2 separate regions of the Homo sapiens genome follow, and region 1 is linked to region 2. The links are contacts of gene promoters, found by promoter capture Hi-C in human tissues and cell types (Jung and others, 2019). All regions are on one chromosome and are shown on one strand. The core of a region is centred on a gene start or on the middle of the fragment in contact, and the rest is flanking DNA. Distances in the headings are between cores, read along the strand shown.

Region 1 (6,367 bases), core at 199-2,698, 34 kb before region 2:
TTAAACATGCTCTTAGGTATCTGCCTGAGTCTCTGGAATTCCCAGCTGACTAAATAAATCTGTCTTAAGTTTAGAGTAGTTACAAGTTTTTCTCTTGAATAATATATCCTTTATCTGGACTCACAGGGAGCCACTTGGCCCTCTTCAGCATTACAGCCCAGATACATAGGACTGCTCCTTCTTCTTGCAGGAACAGGCATTCTCAGATCTCGCTAATGAAACAGAGGACAGAACGCTTAGGTGAAAAGAACAATGACATGTTAGTCTCAAAGCATATTTCCTAATTTTGCCTACTCTTGTAATAAGAATTAAAACTCTTACTCATTGTCAATTTTTATCCAAGAATCAGATGTTCTATTTCTCTATCACTTCCTTTAGTTCAAAAAAAATGAATGTAGAATGCATTTGTATTATTTTGTTCTTGTATTGCTCTAAAAAAACACCTGAGACTGGAAAATTTATAAAGAAAAAAAGGATTAATTGGCTCACGGTTCTGCAGGCTGTACAGGAAGCATAGCAGCTTCTGCTTCTGGGGAGATATAAGGAAGCTTCCAATCATGGTAGAAGGCAAGGGGGTGCCAGGTATCTCACATGGTGGAAGCAGGAGCAAAAGAGAGAGTGTGTGTTTAGAAGACAGGAAGATGAGGATATGTTTGGAACTTCCTAGAGACTGGTTTTAAATGGTAGTGACCAAAATGCTGATAGTGATATGGACAGTGAAATACAAGCTAAGGAGGTCTCAGATGGAAATGAGGAACTTATTGGGGACTGGAGAAAAGGTCATTTTTTGTTATGCCTTAGCGAACAACTATGCTACATTGTGCCCCTGCCCTGTGGATCTGTGGAACTTGAACTTAAATGTGATGATTTAGGGTATCTGGTGGAAGAAATTTCTAAGCAGCAAAGCATTCAAGAAGTGGTGGGTGGATCACGAGGTCAGGAGTTCAAGATCAGCCTGGTAGGGATAGTGAAACCCTGTCTCTACTAAAAATACAAAAAAAATTAGCAGGCATGGTGGTGGGTGCCTGTAATCCCAACTACTCAGGAGGCTGAGACAGAGAATTGCTTGAACCCGGGAGGCGGAAGATGCAGTGAGCTGAGATTGTGCCACTGCACTCCAGCCTGGGCAATAGAGCAAAACTCTCTTCCGCCCCCACCAACCCCCGCCCAAAAAAAGTGACCTGGATGCTTCTAACAACCTATACTGGGATACATAAGCAAAGAAATGACCTAAAGTCAGAACTGATATTTAAAGGAGAAGCAGAACTGTGAGGCAATTAAAGCTCTTCTTCATAAATTACCCAGTTGCAGCTATATAGTCATTTGAGAATGAACTAACACAGCATTAAAAAAAAAATTTCCCATTATACACTACATTACTACAGGCACGGTGGCTCAGGCCTGTAATCCCAGCACTTTGGGAGGACAAGGTGGGCAGATCACAAGGTCATGAGATCGATACCATCCTGGCCAACATGGTGAAACCCCGTCTCTACTAAAAAAGTACAAAAATTAGCTGGGTGTGGTGGTGCATGCCTGTAGTCCCAGCTACTCAAGAGGCTGAGGCAGGATAAATGCTTGAACCTGGGAGGCAGAGGTTGCAGTGAGCTGAGATCACACAACTGCATGCCAGCCTGGCCAGTCTGGGCAACAAGAGCAAAACTCTGTCTCAGAAAAAAAAAAAAAAAAAAATCCCAAACTGCTTCATCACGAATGGACATAATTTTCCATTATTATTAGATGTTTTTCTTTGTATAGATGATTCTGACTTCAATGAATTACTTTCTATACAAGCTTACTTCATCTGTCTCTACACTGTTAGAGTACTTAAATAATTTTCGATTTCCCAGTTTGCCAAACTTTCCCTAGGATAACTATTTTGGGTGAAAATAGTTCATGTTATCAATGTGTGATATATATATTTAAGATATGCATTACATCAGACATATTACATCAGAGAGAATTAAACTAGCATGCTTTTTAATGAGTGGTATGTTCTATCACACTGTGGATATTTTATGGATTTCTTTATTTTTTAATTGGGGGATCTGAGTGATGAATGCTTATTAATGATGACTGAAAACTTTTTAGATTACATAGTTAAACATTGCAAAATTATGTCGCTACTTTTCATTTTATATTTCTATGTTCTACAATACTTAACCTCATTAGTAATTTAAGTTTTAAAAATCTGCATGATGTTGAAATGGTTGTTTTTGTCAGAAAATAACTTTTAAACTTTTTCAAAAAATTAAAAATTTTCATCAAATATTTTAAATATTTTAACACTTCAGATTCCAAATATATAAGTGGACCTTAGCTTTTCACTGTGAAACATATTGTACCAGTTTGCAGTCTCCCCAGTGACTTCACATGGACTTTAAAAACAAATGAATCCCACATGTTGGGGAATTACTAATACTCTATTTACAAATTTTATTTGTTTCATTTATTTATTTATTTTGAGATGGAGTCTTGCTCTGTCACCCAGGCTGTAGTGCAGTGGCCTGATCTGGGCTCACTGCAGCCTCCACCTCCCAAGGTCAAGTGATTCTCCTGCCTCAGCCTCCCTAGTAGCTGGGATTACAGGCACACACCTTCAAGTCCAGCTAATTTTTGTATTTTTAGTAGAGACTGGGTTTCACCATGTTGGCCAGGCTGGTCTCAAACTCCTGACCTCAGGTGATCCACCCACCTCGGCCTCCCAAAATGCTGGGATTGCAGGCATGAGTGACTACGCCCAGCCAAATGAAATTCTTTAATGTAATTGTCTGCTTTGCAAAAGTCTTTGTTTCAAAACTCAGCTCCCTTTAACCAAATTGGATTGCATTTTACTAAAAAGAAATGGAATACAGCAATAAAAAGGCTTTGGTTTGGTCTGAAATATATAAAGCAATTATATTATATCCTCTACTTTTATGTATGCTTGAAAATTTTCATATGTAAATTTTTTAAATAAAAACTCATTAAAAGATACATATATACATATATATAGTGTGTAGTGTGTGTGTGTGTGTGTAATAATGAAAGTGAAAGATATTTGGAACTTGTCGAAGGAGATTATTAATCTTATATCAATTCTTAGATTTATCCAAGCTCACATATTTAATTTAAAAATCTATTTAAACAAATGTAAAATCAGACCCACCCCATCCACACAACTCCCCCAAATAACCCAATAAGAGCAGATACCTACTTACATGCTTTGGAGGATTGCTTAGTATTTTAGGAATAAATTTAACCAGGAGATTCGGAGAGAAATTAAATGTAGGACAAGTTAATACTTGGTTTAATCTTTACTTCTTCTCACATTAAAAATGTGATTTTTATTTTTGAATACACAAAGGAGAATATGTCAGTTTTGCATATTTAGACTATCTCCTCCTAATGCAATAGTGAAAAATAAATTAAAAAAAAAACCATATGGGGCAAGAATCTGCCAACCCAAAGAATAAATAAAATTTAAATGTGAAATTTATTTAACAGTAATATGTTCAGAGTTAGAAGAATGATAGATACATATTACCACCATGGAAGACATATGTGTTTTCAATGTAGGTGTTTTAACTAAAGGAGTTATCCTTCCCATTCAATTCTCCCAGTTCTCCTTCCCTAGCAAAACTGGCCGGTGGAGATGAGGAAGCCTGGACCATACAACTTGATATACCATAAGTGTTTACCTATGTCTCACACCTGAAGTAAGAAATGGTATTATGACATTGTTTAGGATGCCAAAAAGGTGTAGTCTGTGATTAGTTTGAATCTCTTACCTACTGTGTGACCCTTGAAAAGGTGGGGGAAAAGGCATGCAGGAGTATGGATAGGGAGAGCAACCAACATAAGAATCTTAAGTCGTTACCATAAGTCGAATAAGACAATTGAGATTAATTTTCAAAAGGCACGTGTTAAATGAGTCACATAAAATTAAAAAAATTACTTCAGGATAATAACGAAGACATTAAAATGCTGCTATAATGGTATAAAATATGTGGCATTTATTTTTAAGTAGTCTAAGGTGATACACCAAAATTTTTATTTTACCTTAATTAGTTTCTTCTTCAGGAAGACCCTGGGACAAGTCAGCAAGAAACAGAAACATTTGAGAGCTTTCCTTTCCCCACTTTCCCCTTATATGGTGATGTTGACCTTTCATTATAGAAATAACAGACAAATATGTGGATTACTGAGTAAATTCCATCTGTGGAAAAACTATTTTATTAACCATCAAACCAAGTAAGTTAAACAGGCTTTGGTCCCAATTCTTCTTAATCTGACTTTCCATGTTCTAATAAATCTTTCGTTAAAAATTTGGAAGGAGAGATCTACTCATTATTTTCATGACAACCTGTCACAAAATGTGGGCTTCATGACCCCTGCACAGGCTTTGATAAGAAAAAAAGGGAGGCTTTTGTAGGTGTTGATTTTCCTGTTCTCATTTTTGTTTTCTTATTTTTACCTTCTATCCTTCCAAATGTGGCTTATCACCTAGGTAGTGGAATAAATATCTCCTAGAATCTTTGACTCTCTTTCAAGATTAGAAAATATTATATGATGATATTAACACTATTGTTTTATATATCTGTTATAAGATTGCCTTTTGACATTTTCAAAATGTGTTTAGAGATTCTCTAAAATACAGTTTGCAAAGTTCATTTGCCACATAATCATGGTAAATTTCTAGTAATCTCTGGTAGCAGCAGAGAAGTGAGTTAGTAAACAAAGCAATTACAGGTACTACTGTAGTTATTGCTACTTTTGGAAAGGCTGAAATACAGAAGAAAGCTAGATACTAAATCACATTGCATATACGTGTGGTTGTTTCTTTGTTGAAGGTGATCTGATGAGCTGTACAGATCACTAAAGAGGCTCCTGAAAATTCAGCTGAAATTGAGAACAAGAGCAACGACGTTTACCAGCATTTAATAAATGGCTACTGCTTGCTAGTAACTATGCTATATTCTTTGTATTCATCATCCTGTTTACTCTTTATGGATCTATTTTTAAAATGACAAAATTAAAATTTAGAAGGTTTAAGAACGGAACTAAGATTAAACTACTAATGATTTATGATACTAGGATTCTACAGTTGCACTGTAGAGAAGAAACAAAGATTAAGTTAAGTGAAGCCAAAAACTTAGCAGTCAGCATAATTAAATAATTTAACTGCAAATCAGCAAGTTTTATTTTAATTTTAAAAGTTCAGCTATTCAAAGCCAAAAATGTCTACCAAAAATGGAGAAAAATTGTAGAGGTGAATTAAATTGATTTGAAAGAGCTGTGTTGTAAATTGGAATGACTTAAGAATTTGCAATAATTTCACTGACCTTGACTTTTCGTGATGGCTGTGAGAAAACTATTTTATTATATACCTTGTTTTTACATGCTTCATGCGTTTTTTTGTTGGCTTTTAAGAATCATAAAGAATTAGCTCATATTTTATATTAATGAAACAGAATTTTTAATTAAAGCTGTTACCTAGGCCAGGCATTGTGGCTCACACATGTAATTCCAGCACTTTGGGAGTCTGAGGCTGAAGGATTGCTTGAGTCCAGGAGTTTGAGACCAGCCTGGACAACAAAACAAGATCTTGTCTCAACACAAAAGAAAAAAGAAAACAAATTAGGCAGGTGCGGTGGTGTGAACCTGTAGTTCCAGCTACTTGGGAGGCTGAGGCAGGGAGTTTACCTTGAGCCCAAGAGTTCAAGGTTGCAGTGAGCTATGATTGCACCACTGCACTCCAGCCTGGGTGACAGAGGGATACCCTGTCTGGAAACACACAAAAACCAGAAAACACAAAAATTATTATATAAACATTTAACTATTTGTTCATATACATTAACTGCACCAGTGCTTCTTTGGAGTGAATTCCAAAATTTGTAACCATCTAAAATGGTTTGGCTGTGTCCTCACCCAAATCTCATCTTGAATTACAGTTCCCATAATCCCCATGTGTTGTAGGAGGGACCTGTTGGGAGGTAATTGAATCATCGTGGTGGTTATCTCCATGCTGTTCTTGTGATAGTGAGTTCTCATGAGATCTGATGCTTTTATAAGGAGCTTCCCCCCTTTGTTCAGCACTCATTCTCTCTCGTCACCCTGTGAAGAGGTACCTTCTGCCATGATTGTAAGGTTCCTGAGGACTCCCCAGCCATGAGGAACTGCGAGTCAATTAAACCTCTTTTCTTTATAAATAACCCAGTATCAGGTGTTTCTTCATAGAAGCGTGAGAATGGACTAATACACTAAGCAAGTACCTCAGAGAGTGAGGCACTGCTGTAAATACCCTGAAAATGTTGAAGCAACATTGGAACTGGGTAACAGGCAGAGGTTGGAACAGTTTGGAAGGCTCAGAAGAAGACAGGAAAGT
Region 2 (6,926 bases), core at 3,399-5,898:
AAGGAAAAAAGACAAGAGGAAGGTAGGAAAGCAAGAAGGAAGAAGGAAGGAAAGAGGGAAAAGGGAAGGAAGGAAGGAAGAAAGGAAGGGAGGAAGGAAGGAAAAAGTGGTAAAATAAGAAGAGAAGAGAGAAAAGAATAAAGAAAAAGAATAGAAAAAGAGAGGAAGGGAAGGGAAATAAGAAAAATGAGTAAAAGAAAGAGAAGAAAGAAAGGAGCTAATGAAAAGAGATTAAGGAAGCATTTCTCCATTTACTTTTTACTTGAATATAGTGAACCTGGCCAAGCTAACTTTCAACTTCTGTGTAGTTATAGTTGACGATGCATTCCATTAAGGACTTTTTAAAAGGAGGCTAAATATTTGAAATAAATCACAACATAAGTTCAATTGATGGTGGAATTTGCAAAATAGAGAAATTCCTCTAATTTGGGAACAAATGAAGCATGTGGCCGCACATAAAACTCATGTGTTTATTAGCTTGCTAAAGTTGCTTTCTTCATTGAACTCTTCAAATACTTAAAGTAATAATTTCTAAACAGAGTACAAATTGGATTTAGTACAGAAGTCCCAATTCTATAATTCACTAGAGTCATCACTTTTGTTTCTCAACAAAAGTCTCGCTTCTGTTTTCTGAGTACAATATCAAATTATATTCTCAAGCATTCAGACATAGTTTTAACCCTTTTTTCTCAGATTTTTCAAAATTTCAACTAATTAAACATAACTATTTATTTAGTGTTAATGAAGTATATTATCTCTTTTAAAAGATATATCTAAAATAGCCTATGTATGTAAATGACCTCAAAGGGTCACCTGAAAACCATTATTTAGCCTGTCATGTGTAGTTTATTTTATTAAAACCTATTTCATGGCATGAATTTTCTGAATACTGATGAATATAGACAAACTATAACAATGCAAAGAAAATAAATACATTAAGTTATATCAGCAAACATGTTTACCTGTTGGAATGAAGAGTAATTTACTATTCACATTTCAAAAAAATATTTTTGCCTTGAAATGCCTGAGGCTATTGATGAGTTTGGAATTCATTTTCAGACTATTTTAGCTTTTGAGGAAATCTATTTTCAATTCAATATTATTTCTGAAAGAAATTTTAGATTTGTCACCTCTAGAAAGTGATAGTTTTCCTTAGAAAACTGAGATAAAGAAAGCTTGGAAATAGAACTATATCTATTAGAAATGCCTGTATATATGTGTACACATTCTGCATTGCAAATAACACCTCTAACTTCTTAAGCTTGCTGAAAATAACTTTTAAAAATAGGGCATTTAACACCCTGCATAACAGCATAGCTGAAAGTTTCCTGAAGTGTTAAAGAAAAGGCTGGCTAGATGTTTTATCATGATGGCTGAAGGCGGTAGCATTGTGTCTGACACCTGACCCATTTATCTCACTTCGTAAACTTCAAATAAATCAACAGACAACATGGTTTCTCTTTTTCCTAGTTATCTGGGGGTACGTAATGAGAGTTTACCTTATGTTTGCTGCCTACCTTCAGAAGATATATGCTACAACAGTATTTAGTGTGTGTATCTTTACTGTAAATTTTACTAGGCCAGGTATTTTAATAAAACTTTCACATTTCTTTGTTTTGGCATGTATCCATATGTGTCATTTCTGATCTCTCTGCCTCTCCAAGATCATGGTTAGATGATGCATCTCATCGTTATTTCTTTTTCTTTTCCTGAGAATAAACTGTATTTTATAGGAGTTTCTGGTAGGCTTATTTGCATTTTTTCAACAGAGCAACTTTTAATAAAGAAGAAACCTTTGTTAGTTTAAAATTTAATTCTACTTAGAAAATATATTTGTTCTTTAAATATCCCACAGTTTGTACTGGAGAAAAAAAATAACACTTCAGGTTAGACTCTAAACATAATGCATTATCAATGAATTTTAGCCCAGAAAGAATTAGCCTTCTGGGTGCACAGCTTCTCTGTCTTGGCTTCCAGCCAGGGCTGATATTCTAGCTTTATTTTATGTTTCCCCAGCTGCTTTCTAAATCTGGGAAGGCAGCACCAGCCAGAATCTTCTAGTTTGAACACAGTATGCTAAATGCTTCTCTCTTCTCCCTTAGTAATTGCTTGTAAATGATGCACACAAAGTTTGATCTTTGGATTTTATTTCCAAAGGCCCCCTTTCAACTCAAACAGAAAGTACAAGGGGATCATATGAACATTTAACCTACTGGGGACAACTGTTCTACTGGGTTGGAAACATTTATTTAGTACGTTTAAGAACTAATGTTAGTATTGAGATTGAATTATGTTTATTTTAAATCCAAGTATAGAATGCTTTTCTTTGGGAGAAGAAAGAATAGGTATAACAGTTTTTAATCTCAAATAAAAAATGAAAGATCCTTATTTTCCTGAGGTGAACATAAGCATGAGCATATGTTTCTATTTTGATTATCAATTATAGAAATTCCAAATTATGACTTAATATATTTATATATAAAAATAGTCCCCATATACTTCCTTTTGATGTTTAGGATAATATATTTAAAATTACACATTTCTTAAATAATAAGCCTATCTTGGAGAAAACAAAATGTAATTTACATATATTTGCATTTTTATTTATTATTTATATATTTGCATTAATCAATTTAAAAAATTCAAATTTTCAGGAGGTTTTACCTTCCTTTTATTTAAAAATAATGCCTGAGTTTCTAAATTGGATCTAAGGGTGATTTTCAAGTTATATTAGTAACTCATATATATTATAACTTTTTCAAAGGGTTTTTATGTATCAGTCTTAGTGGTGACCAGGTGCCATTCAGATAGAGTTAAAAGGCCCATTCTGCTTAGTATTCAATTTCTAAAAATCTTCCCAATTAGCTTATTATGAGATGTCTATCAATGTAAACATTGTTTAATATTGATCATCATAATGTATTGTCATACGATTTCTTATTTTTAAAAATGTCAACAATAGTAGGCTTAACTTCCCATTTATATATTGAGATAAATGTAAATGGCAATTATATTTTGCTTATTAATTAGTTTTTTATGAATTCCAGTTGAAAACTTAGACTGTTGTAGTCAGTGGACTTTATATTCTTTACATAAACTTGCTACTCACACACACACACACACGCACACACTCATGCACACAAATGACCAGCACAGAACCTATGTGACACTGGGATATAGCTAACTGGCATACTTTTAATAGAGTAGAATAAATTACTCTTTTGATATGAAAAAAAAAAAAAAACCTTTACATCGTTGTGGGAAAATTCATTGCTTCCTAGTTTTGGGGAAATTCAACCAATTACAATAACTTTCATCTTTATCAATTTCCTCTTGGGGCAGAAACCTCACAGGATTTTAACCATGTTGTTGGTGAGAAAGTGGAAAACTAAAATCATTCTGAGAGTTACAGAAACACATCAGTATCTTGGTATGCAATTTATGTTAAAGCATTTATGAAACTGTGCAAATGAAAAATATTCTGATAAAAGGCACCACGAAAACAAGCAAAGGTGAGTTTGAAAGAGACATGATAAAACATAAACTTAAAACTTTCTAAAGCTGTATGAGAACTCACAGTATAACTTATCATAATAAACAAAACATATAATCACTTAAAAAAACTATGACAGGAATTCTGTAGAATATAGTATTTTATTAATCAGGACAAATTCTAAGAAAAATAAGGTTTAATTTTCCTTATTTAGCTTTCTCAAAAAGAATATTGAAAAGAATGAGTAAAACCATATTCCAATAACATTTCTTGTTTTCCAACTTATTCTGTGCTTGAGGAAATTGGAGGTATACCATAAAGCTTTCTGTCCTCCTAGGAAACTATGCTTAGGGCATATGACATATATTGTTCTAAGAATTTATTTTTCTTTTCTAATAGGAGGTAGGAGGAAAGCACCTATTTCTTTATAAGCAATTTATGACTGTAACATACAATTTCACATGTCTGTGACAGCTGTTTCTCTAAAGCAGACCATTAGTACAGAGCATGCCTATAAATCTCAGGTCCAAAAAACAGGAGTTCCCATCTTCGGTAATTTGAATGCCATGTTTTCAGTAACACTTATTAGGGAAACATTTATAACCCTACAGTTAACTTTGGATGTTGAGTTTGTAAAATTGGTGCTTTTAATATGAAAAGGCTAAAGTTGTTATCAAATAAGATATTTCCTATGCAAATGTTCCGGCAACTGTTTAAATTTTATCAAGTTGTATCTCTTTTTTTTTATGTACGACTGTATTTTCTACTTACGTGCAAATATAACTTCTATAAAGCATGATGACAGGTAAGCACACACATGCGGAAAAGGGAGATTGAATTTGGTTTTAAGATATTATCTGCTTCTACATAAATCTTTCACAAATAAAACTTTATTGTGTCCGACTTGTTTACATAGCTAAGCAACGCATATTCATTTATGATACACACCTCGATTTCAGCAAATTAAGCAGTAACTTACCTAGAGAAGCATTTCAATATTTTGTCTTTTTCTAACTTGAATTTATCCCGTGTTAGAACATGAGATATCCAGTATTCAGGTTCACTTGGCTCCAGGTTAATTAGAAGGAGCTTTCAGTTCATGCAATCTGCCTCAACAATATTCCAAGAGCACTCTCTAGCTCCAGTCTTAGTGTCTGAACTCTTCCAGCAGAGTCCTTTTATTTATACACACATTGTCCTTTTCAAAACAAGCAGCCAGCTGGAATGATTCAAACCTCTGTTCAGCACACCGTTAAAATGCAGCTTCCTTCTTGGACACGAGAATTACACCAGGGAGCAGACCGAGTACAGCAAAAAGGCTATGAGAACTATTTAATCACCGGAATACCAGCTGCTCCTGCTCTGCTGTTGCTAGTGCTGCTGTGCCTCTTGTTTAGCTGTAGTCGGTCTTTCCCTCCCTCCCTCTCTCTCACATCTCCAGAACTATAAAGGCAGCTTTGCCGGATTATGATTGGCAGAAACAGCCAATTCCTTCAGCTAATCATCCTCAAGACTTTCAAGGACCTGGAGCTGTTGTGATGTCATCCAGTCAGTGGGATGTTACACATGAATACATTCCAACAGAAGCTAATTCAGCGATGGGCTGCATTCCGCTCACACCGCGGTGATTGATTAGATGCTCCTTGAAGATTTGCATAATCTTTCATTGTACAGTTCGACTATTTCCTATGAAATTTGAGGATAGAATTCCACTTTGCAGCTATGACACTGTTCCACGAGATTCTATTGGACAAAATAAGAAAAGTTCAAAGCAGGATTTTCTGCTGTAAATGTGTGCCAGTTAAACACAAAAATTACAAACTCAACAAAAGCCAACAATGAGCAATAGGAAACTCGGACAAGTATTAGTAAGCTACATAGTCCTGAAGTTAATAACAGCATTTTAGACCATGATAAATGTTAGAAGAAAAGAAAGAGTATGTGCGTGTGAATTTATTGTGTGCATTGTTTTAGTAATTAAGGTAAACTACTGGATTATTATGGAAAAGTTCTTTTCTATGTCTCTTTTCTTCTTTTTAACGTGGCAATATAAGTTGAAAATTACCTGCTCTTTGTTTTCTATTAATTCGTGTAAACACATAAAGATATTATCAAGTACTTTTATATACATTATGTAAAGTTCTTTAAACTTATTCATTAGGATATATGTAAAAGTAAAAGTAAAGTGCTTTCAGGTACTTCTCCTCATTCCAGACTACATGATTCCCTGGGCTTTTCTTGCTTTAGTACATCCCTTAGTTTCTACCATTTAATTTAGTGGAATAAGATAGGCTAATGAGAATTTGGTTCAACACCCCTAATAGGTTGCAGAACAGAACTACAAGCTTTTCTCAACTCCAAGTCCTCCTCAGGTATATGGGTGTCTTTGGTTGTACGTAGTAGTTCCACTTGAAATACTGGTGTGGTTTCAATGAAATCCTCTATAAGACTGGAAGGTAGGGGTAGGAGGGAGTCCTTCAAAACTCAGCATTTATTGATGATGTGGTCTTTCAGAAGAATAATTTTAATGCATCCAGGATTACTAGTATTATTATACTGCACAAGGTTTTGAGGGTTAGCAAGCCATAGACATATGCCATACAGAGAATAGGGAAAAAAAATCTAGCAAGTTAGAAAAAATATTTACCAGTTATTCATAAGCAATAAATAAAACCTAGTAACTCATAGGTCATGTATCAGTTAGTTTTTCAGGTGCACAGGCTAAAATATATTAAAGAAAAAATTTATATTTTAAAAATAATTAAAGCGTTCAGGTACTTCTTACTACCTTTTAAAACATTTGGAATGCAAAGATGCATTGAAGTCAAGTCAGAATTTTCAGAGTGATACACATCAAAATTCAAAATGGATAAATAAACTGCAGTTAAATATTTCAAAGATGTCATAATAAAATAATTATTACTAGAGTAGCATCATGGGAAACACTAACAGTTGATAAATAACATAAAATAGCATAAATTGTAAAAGCCAATTGAAGATTTTTCTGTTGTATGTAGTTTGGCTTACTAATAATGCCTTCTTCTTTATTCAAGTTGGGTAATTATTTTTAAGTCTTAACTTTAGAAAAATAATTTAAATGAAAAACTATTATAAATGCTCAACATCTTTATATTATTGACATAGTTCTATTTCACAACTCAAGAATGCCACTTTATCAGAGTATTTTCATTTATTGGAACTAAATGGCAACACAGTGATCTGAAGATAAAACCCATCACATTAAAACATGGAGCAGGGTTTATATCCTCGGCTCTAGTGATAAACTAGAGCTGATATCCATTGATGATTACAAGTGAAAAATGTTGATCAACTTCTTCTCTAGCATTAAACTATAAACAATGTTTTAAGCTGAAGAGGTAACTACTTTCACAGTGTAAAAATGCTATATAAAATATTAATAGAAGATATTCTT

The links. The method cuts DNA at HindIII sites, captures the fragments that hold promoters and counts their contacts. A contact is called where the count stands out against the background at its distance.
Region 1: a fragment that was not itself captured here is called in contact with the fragment with the promoter of NDST4 in region 2 in 1 of the 25 tissues and cell types used here (heart left ventricle).

The regions. Positions count from the first base shown.
Region 1 is chr4:115,077,691-115,084,057 of GRCh38, forward strand. The region is part of intron 1 of NDST4 (N-deacetylase and N-sulfotransferase 4); the gene reads right to left. Among named protein-coding and RNA genes, the nearest start is that of NDST4, 33 kb to the right of the region's middle. The HindIII fragment of the contact is 6,354 bases long and covers 1-4,625 here.
Region 2 is chr4:115,108,972-115,115,897 of GRCh38, forward strand. NDST4 (N-deacetylase and N-sulfotransferase 4) reads right to left here and starts at 4,649. Exons shown (of 14, transcript NM_022569.3): 1 at 4,473-4,649. The HindIII fragment of the contact is 5,437 bases long and covers 2,538-6,926 here.